2 separate regions of the Homo sapiens genome follow, and region 2 is linked to region 1. The links are contacts of gene promoters, found by promoter capture Hi-C in human tissues and cell types (Jung and others, 2019). All regions are on one chromosome and are shown on one strand. The core of a region is centred on a gene start or on the middle of the fragment in contact, and the rest is flanking DNA. Distances in the headings are between cores, read along the strand shown. Region 1 holds the start of PRICKLE4 (prickle planar cell polarity protein 4). Region 2 overlaps FOXP4 (forkhead box P4).

The links. The method cuts DNA at HindIII sites, captures the fragments that hold promoters and counts their contacts. A contact is called where the count stands out against the background at its distance.
Region 2: a fragment that was not itself captured here is called in contact with the fragment with the promoter of PRICKLE4 in region 1 in 1 of the 25 tissues and cell types used here (lymphoblastoid cells).

Annotation. Positions count from the first base shown.
Region 1 is chr6:41,778,818-41,782,817 of GRCh38, reverse strand. It overlaps PRICKLE4 (prickle planar cell polarity protein 4), which reads right to left and starts at 2,036. Exons shown (of 8, transcript NM_013397.6): 1 at 1,992-2,036; 2 at 1,298-1,468. It overlaps FRS3 (fibroblast growth factor receptor substrate 3), which reads left to right and starts at 2,918. Exons shown (of 7, transcript NM_006653.5): 1 at 2,918-3,002. RefSeq lists silencers at 2,253-2,322, 2,603-3,012, 3,043-3,192. The HindIII fragment of the contact is 3,550 bases long and covers 900-4,000 here.
Region 2 is chr6:41,587,096-41,590,985 of GRCh38, reverse strand. It overlaps FOXP4 (forkhead box P4), which reads right to left. Exons shown (of 17, transcript NM_001012426.2): 6 at 3,830-3,890; 7 at 3,474-3,687; 8 at 3,089-3,193; 9 at 2,255-2,342; 10 at 1,132-1,215; 11 at 816-1,023; 12 at 639-715. Among named protein-coding and RNA genes, the nearest start is that of MIR4641, 9.7 kb to the left of the region's middle. The HindIII fragment of the contact is 5,524 bases long and covers 1-3,890 here.

The sequences.
Region 1 (4,000 bases), core at 787-3,286:
AGAGGAACACCTTGCACTTTTATATATAGCAGCAATTGCATTGGATAATCTAAGTTCATCTCTTCAGCTTTCCTCTCGGCAGCTCCTGATATGACCATAATATCTTGGGGGTAAGAAGTGACTATTGGCTGGGCACGGTGGCTCACGCCTGTAATCCCAGCACTCCGGGAGGCCGAGACAAGCGGATCACGAGGTCAGGAGATCGAGACCATCCTGGCTAACACGGTGTAAACCTCCTCTCTACTAAAAATATTAAAAAAATTAGCCGGGCGTGGTGGCGGGCGCCTATAGTCCCAGCTACTCCGGAGGCTGAGGCAGGAGAATGGTGTGAACCCGGGAGGTGGAGCTTGCAGTGAGCCAAGATCGCGCCACTGCACTCCAGCCTGGGCGACAGAGCAAGACTCCGTCTCAAAAAAAAAAAAAAAAAAAAAGAAGAAGTGACCATTGGCTGGGCACAGTGGCTTATGCCTGTAATCCCAGCACTTTGGGAGGCTGAGGCAGGCAGATCACCTGAGGTCAGTGGTTCGAGACCATCCTGGCCAACATGGGGAAACCCCATCTCTACTACAAATACAAAAATAAGCTGGGCGTGGTAATGTGTGCCTGTAATCCCAGCTACTCCAGAGGCTGAGGCAGGAGAATCGCTCCAACCTACCTGGAAGGCAGAGGTGGCAGTGAGCTGAGATCATGCCACTGCACTCCAGCCTGGGCAACAGAGTGAGACTCCGTCTCAAAAAAAAAAAAAAAAAAGCGACTATTAATGTAGAGAAGAGATGAGCCCCGCCCTCAAGGAGCTCATAGTGGGTAAGACAAAGATGAAACCAGGTAGAATGGGATCAATCAGAGCTCGGGACAGACATACAAAAACCCTGGAGAAAAAAATAACCAGAGCAAACTTTTTAATAATATTTACTCTGTGCCAAGGACTCTTCTAGAATATTACATAATATAGTCCATCCTCACAATAATCTTATGAGGTAATCTCTTTCATTCCACTTGACAGTTGAAACAAGTTAATTAACTTGCCCAAGATCATACCAGAGGCTAAGGGAAGCCTTAGGGGGACCTGGCTTCTGAGAGCTGGGATAGATTCTGAAAGTAGCTGGGCACAGGAGGGTCATCATCAAATCCCTGGCCTCTAAGACTGGGCCAGGGATTCGTACTGGGGTTGAGGTGAGGGTTTGGACTGTAACAGTTAATATTGCTTCCCAGCACTGAACCCTCCTCAGCACCGCCCCTCCACTCCCACTTCAAATGTCCTGTGCCACCCTTCCCTCCTTCCTGGCTTCACACCCACCTGCTTCCTTCCTCTTCTGTCCTTCAGGTCAGGTTTCCTGTGGAAGGTGGCCAGGATGGGCTGTTCACACCAGGAGTAGCCACTAACAGCACTGCCCCTGCTCCAGGCAGCAAGAAAGGAGGGGGCGTCTGGGGCCCCAGGAGGGGACTTGCACCCTCTTCCATTTTGGCTCTAGTTTGCATAGAATTGTCCAACACAGAAACAACACTCAGAAATCAGGCCTCTATTCCTCACCCTTCCAATCTCCCCAAAGGCAGCCAAACTCCACCTCCACCTAGCACTGGAACACCCTTACTAACAGGCCAGCTGGATTCCTTCCATAATTCCCTTCCCCCTCCCACCTCAGATAAGGGACAGAGCTGAACCCCTTGTCTTGCCTCCGTGCAGAGCCTCCGTGCAAGAGGGCTCAGGAGCTGGACATCCCCAACACCCGCTGCCCTGAAGGGCAGAGCCCGAGAGGACTTAGGGCTTGGGGAGGTGGAGGGATGGGAAGATTTCTGGGGACAGTGGGAGGGAGAAGGAAGGGGAGTGCCCAGTCCCGCCAACTGCCCTCTCGATAGATCCCCAGAGTTTTTCTGGAACTTGGCGGGCCCGCCTCCGGGGCTGGGACGCGGTGTTTCCCGAGTCCGCTGGGGTTCCCGGTCTGGCTGCTGGGATTTTAGGGGAGGGGACCAGGACTCCGCTGGGGTCTCACCCTCGCTGTGCGTCGCTGTCCGGGCAGTTCTGGACCGACTCTGCCGTCAGGCCCCTCACCCGGTCCCCACCCCAAGGCTTCAGCGCCCGCCCCCGTCCGCCCCCGCCCGCCCTAATAGCGCGGCCCTTCCTCTCCCACGCCCCAGCGGCCCCCGCCCGCCCCTCCCCGGCTGGTGGAGAGGGGCGGCTCAGGGAGGGGCCTGGAGCTGCAGATTGGGGGGAGGAAAAAAAAAAGGAAAACAAAACCACATTTATGGGATCTCAGGGTGGAAATGTGCGGGCTCCATGGCCTCTGCCATGCAGGTGCAAGGGCTCTCTGGCTCGGACTGCGCCCGGCAGGCATCCAGCAGACGCCGGGAGCCGCGTTTACGCTGGGTTTTCAACCATTCGCTGAATGGAAACGCCTCGCCGGGCCCGCAGCCCTGTCTCTCCGCAGTTCCCAGGTCTCCCCAAACTCTCCCTGTGGTCTCCCAGCCCCGCTCCTCCGCGTGTTTCCCTTCAGTTCTCTCCCCCTTGTCCCCAGTGGTCCCCCTGGCCCCTTCCCCTCCCCTCAACCCTCTTCCAGGTTCCATCGTCTTGCCCTTCTCCTTTCAGGTCCCTTCAGACCCTCTCCCCTTCCCTTCGTTTCTCGCCCAACCCTCCGTCCCCTTTCCGCTCCCCGGACCACCCCCAACTTTGGTGTCCTCAGCCCCGCCTCCGCGCCCCGCCTCCGCCGCAGGCTCCGCCCTGTCCCCTCCGGGCTTGCTCAGCCCCTGGCCAGGAGCGCCCTCTGGCGTCTGCGCATGCTCACTGCTCCCGACTGCAAAGTCCTCCAAAGGGACCTTCTAGGCTGCGTGCCGGTCGCCCCCGCTCGGGTCCGCCAGCCCGCAGCGTCTCGTTGGTGCTGCCGGTGACCTCCGACCCCGCGGCCGCGGGGCGGGGCGGGGCGGGGAGGCCTTAGCTCCGGGCGGGCGGCGGCTGCTGCAGCGGGACCCGGGAGCGGGGCCCGGCGCCGCCCGGGCCGCGGGGCGATGTGAGTCGGGGCGCGGCGGGGCGGGGACGAGGCGGCTTCACCGAGGCCGCGCCGCGCCGCGCCGCGCCGCGCCGCAGTCTCCACTCCCTCCCTAGGAAGCCCCGGGCGGGCGGGCAGGCGGCGGAGCACCGGGGCTGGGGGCGGGGATCCGGGGACAGCGCGCACCCAGACCTCCTCATTCCTTACGGGCATGTAGAAATTCCCCTTGACAGTCCTGTAGCCTGTCCTGCAGCCTCTGGCTCCCCCAACCCACCTCTACCCTCTCCGCCCTGGACACATCATCGCATCTCCTGGAGCCCTCAGAACCCCCTCATTCACTCAACAAATCTCCTGCTATGCCCACGGACCCACCATTTCTCTTGGATGCCCCCAAATGCTTCCACTGCCCGGAAATTCCTAGGATCCCTCATATCCCCATTCTCCTTGCACTATCCAAAATGCCCACATCCAAAATTCTTGCTCATGTTTCCCCAAACGTCCTCATACGTTTTCAGCCCCCACACCCCCCTCTCACTCCTGCCCCTGATCCATACCTATCCCAGACCAGAGGCCTCTCCCCATTTCCACTCAATGCAGTCCCTCCTCAGTGGGCTATCTGATACATCCTGATATCTTAAGGAGAAGAGATGGTGATAGGGAAATTCAGCCCCTCCCCCATCTTGCACCCTAGAGTTCTTCGTTTCAGTGCCCGCGCCGTGCCCCCGTCGGTGGCTCAAGCCCCAGTATTTTCCCAGCAACCTATCTTTAGTCTGTGCACACCTCCCTGAGCCTGCTTCTTCCTTCCAGAAAATAAGCCAGACCAAGGGGATGGGGTCCTTTTACCTGGAAGTTGTCCAAGGATGCAGGGTGCAAGGGGCCCTGGGAAGTGTTTCTCCAGAGCAGGAATGTGGGATGTCCAGGGTCTGCAGAGTCCTGGCTTGTTGACTTGTCTACCTTGGGCTCAGATATCCTGAAATTTTGGCTTACTGTTAACATTTATGTTAAAATTAGGCCTTTCA
Region 2 (3,890 bases), core at 489-2,988, 190 kb after region 1:
TATTTGTACAAGAAGGATTGGAGCTGCTTCTGGAGAGAAAATGCCTTTAGTACCTGGCCCTGCACCGAGGGTGAAAGCAGTCAGTCCTGTCTTTCTTGGGAGAGATGTCCACGGGGTGGAGGCTGTTTGGAATTTATCCTGATTTTGGCAAAAGGTACCCTAAGCACAGTGTGTGTGTGACAGAAAGAATGTGTGTGAAGGTGTACATGCCTGTGTGGGTATCAGGGAGGACATATGTGTCGATGTAAGTTCATGCTTGAGTGTGAATACTATGTGAACATTGGTGACATGAAGATCATGGGCTTGAGGGAGGAAAGACAAAGGAGAGAGACGAAGAGTGACCCTGAGTCTATCATGGCGGGCTGTGTACGTGGAAATGAGCACATGAATGCCACGGTGGGTGTCAGTAAGAAGAACAGTGTGTGCACCCCCAGAGACACATAACCCTATGCAGCAGGCTGACAGGGCCCAGCCTGCAGGAGAGCCCCGCACAGCAGAGAGGGAAGACCGCCACGTGAGAGGGAGCGGGACAGCTCCATTGCTTGGCCCCAGGACCTTCCTGGAGGCAGGGGTGTGGCGGGGGCTGGGGGAGCAGCCTGTGTGCCATTCCCCACCCTCCTCCTACCTGCCCTGCTCACCTGGCGGATGAGGGAGGCGTAGGTGAAGGGGGGCCGGACGTCGGCGTTCTTGTAGAACTCATGATTCTGGGCCAGCTCTGGGGAGACAGGCAGAGGATGAGGTAGCCAGATATGGGGCTCAGATGGGAAAAACAGCCTCACGCTGCTGTCGCCCTGCAGCCCCCAGCCCACCCTCACCTGAGGAGATGGGGGAGCAGAACTTGTCACTGCTTCTCCGACGGGCTGGGCCCCCACCATGCAGGGAGGCAGAGCCCAGGCCAGGGGGCCGTAGAGGGGTGACAGGGGCTGCGGCCGAGGTCGGGGGGTGCACGAGACCATCTGGGAATGAGTCTGCTGCAGAGACGGTCACCTTGGAGAATGAGGAGGAGCCGGGGACCGGGTTCAGCTGTGAGCAACGGGGAGGGTACTGAGACCAGTGCCCGAGGGTGGGGGTCCCGAGGCTCCAGGGTCTGTGGAAGGCTCTGGGAGGGGCGGGGAGGGGAGCAGCACTCACTGGCTGGCTGAAGGGCTTGGGCTCCGAGGGCCGCATGTGCAGGTGGGCCATCATGGCCTGCAGCCGCTCGCTCTCCTTGGCGAGCTGTGGAGGGTGGCAAAGCAGGAGGTGAGCGGGAGGCTGAACCCTGGAGGCAGTGTTGTCCCACCCCTCCACCGCCAGGCTCTTCAGAAGGCCGCCGATTCCCACCCCCATTCGCCTCCTTGCCTCAGCATCCATGCTCCCTCTGTGACCCGCTCCAGGGAGGCCTCAGCAATGCTCTACCCCTCAAGGGCTGCCAGCTCCATGAAGCCTCTCCCTTTCTCCCCTGGATGGTGACCATTTGAGCCCTCCCAGTGCGTCCTGGCTGGAGCTTATCCCTGCCTCTACATGTTGGGAGGCTTCTTCCTACCCACCCACGGGGGGGCGGCCACTGTGCCTTGTGCAGTGGCACTTGTGTGTGAGGGCCTTGCATACTGAATGCAGATGCAGGAACTGATGAATGGCTCAGACACCCCATTCATAAACTCAATGGGTCTCTCATGACCACCCTCTCACAGCAGGATGCTCTGCTAGGTGCTGGAGGGAGATGGGTAAGCACAGAGGAGCTGCCCTGAGTTGCTTCCTGGGAACCCTGTGCTGCTGAGTGTCCCCTCTCAAGTAGCTGGGATACTCCCTTGGGAAAGCCAGGCTGCCTGGGTTCTAATCCCAGCTCTGCCACTCACAGGCAAGTTACTTTAGCTCTGTGTGCCTGTTTTCTCCATCTGGAAAATGGGGAGAATAATGGTACCCACCACATAAGGTTGTTGAGAGGATTCCTTGAGCTATATAAAGTATTTAGCACAGCACAAAGTAAGTGCTCCATATGTTAGCTGCTAATAATTATTTTTGATGTTTCTATGTAGCGTGAGTCTCTTCTGGACCTCCCAGCAGAGACGCCCCCAACCTTGGTTTACCCCTCAGAATCCAGCTGTCCTCACCTCACAACCATGGTCATTAGGACCTAGAAAGCATAAGATGGTGGCTTTGACCATAGGACCCTTCCATGAGACCCTCCCAACAGAGCCCACCTAGCAAGTCAGTGCTGTGGGTGGGCAGGGGCTGGAGCCCACCATGTCCCTCCCCAGCATCTTCCGGGCCACACCTGGATCTCCAGCTGCTGCACCACCTGCATCTGTACCCGGCACTGGGCTGTACTCCGGTCATCCAGGGCGTGCTCTGTGTTGAGGTGTCTTCAAGGGGAAGAGAGGAGGAGAGAAAGTTGGCTCCGGTTTCCCTGCTGCCACCATCCTCCCATCCTATCCTCTAATCCCACCCATGGCCTGAAAAGCAGACAGACCAAGAGATACAAAGAAGAGAAAGAGGTGGAAAAACGGGGCAATGGAGGAAGGCTTCTCCCTTCTCGTCAGCCTCCTTTGATGTCTTTGCTAAAATCCCAGCTACAGAGAGATCTAATTGCAAATGAACTAATTAAGTAAACCTCTGACGAAGCGTGAAAACAATTTGTTTGACCCTGATGCTGCAAGGGTCTGGGAGACAGCGGAGTTAATCAGTCAGTGACAGAGCCTGGCACGGCTGTGGCAGCTGGCCGCCTGCTGCCAGCCGCCCGTCCACCTCCCGCCCTGCCTGTCTGCGGCCCTCAGCCTGTCACTCGCCATCACTCCCCGGGGCTGAGGCTGGAGGGGAGCAGGGGAGGGTGGGGGGAGGAGTAATGCTTATGTTTGTCCTCTCCTTCTCCTACCCGCACCCTGCGCTGGGGATGGAGTCAGGGGAATGCAGGCCCAGAAATATAGACAGGGTAGGGAGTGGGTGATCAGGGAGTCCGTGGGGGGCAGAGAAAGAACTAGAACCCTCTGGAGTGAGGACAGTAGTACAGCTAGTGAGGAGGGCTCCCAGAAGGGGCAAGCTAGTGGGCAGGGTTGGGGGAGAGGCCCTGTGGGGAAAGGCTGCTGGGGGAGGGGCTGGGGGTGACACCTACTTGATAAACTGGCCCAGGTCTTCACACAGGGTCTCACAGCCTGGCCACTTGCACTCTCCGTGTCCGTACAGGGGGTGGGAGCCGGGGGTCTCCTCGTGGGAAGAGCTGGGAGGACAGCAGGGAGGTGGCCGATCAGGGACCCTGAAGACCCCAGCGGCCCTGTAGTCAGCTGAGCACCAGCTCCCCTGCTGGTGACATTTCTGCCCCAATACAGGTTTCCCAGCGGCCAAGCACCATCTGTACACCCCGGGAGAGGGAGTGGAGAGGGAGTGAACCTCCGGTCCGTGGGCTCCACCCCCTCCCTCACAGTCAGCCCTCATGGGTGGGGGGCCAGGTCTACCCCCAGGCAGGCCTTTGATGCCCCTCCCAGCCTGGACCCCTGTACCTGTCTCTCCGAGATGTGAGCACAGTAGGCTGTCCGTTGGGCAGGGTATGGTGGGAGAGGGGGGGTGAGACCTTGGGGGGAGCGGCAAACGAGGTAGCGGTGGCGGCCGTGCCAGTGAGGTCCAGCCCCTCCTGCTTGACGCTGTCCTCGGCAGGCTGCCCGGGGGCACCCTCGCCCTTCCACAGCTGGGGCAGGTCTGTTGGGCAAACAGCTGCTGTGGGAGAGACAGGGGAGGCTGGCAGGGCCCCACGAACACTCGGCTTTCTACCTGGCCCCAAGAACAGGGGCTGCCAGCTGTTGCGTACAGGCAGGGCTGTGGGGTTGGGGCTGGGAGGGGAGGAGTGGCGGGTGCTCACCTTGCGGAAGGGTCTGGAGGGGCCCCGAGGCTTGGTTGGGCTGCAGGCTGACCAGCCCCTG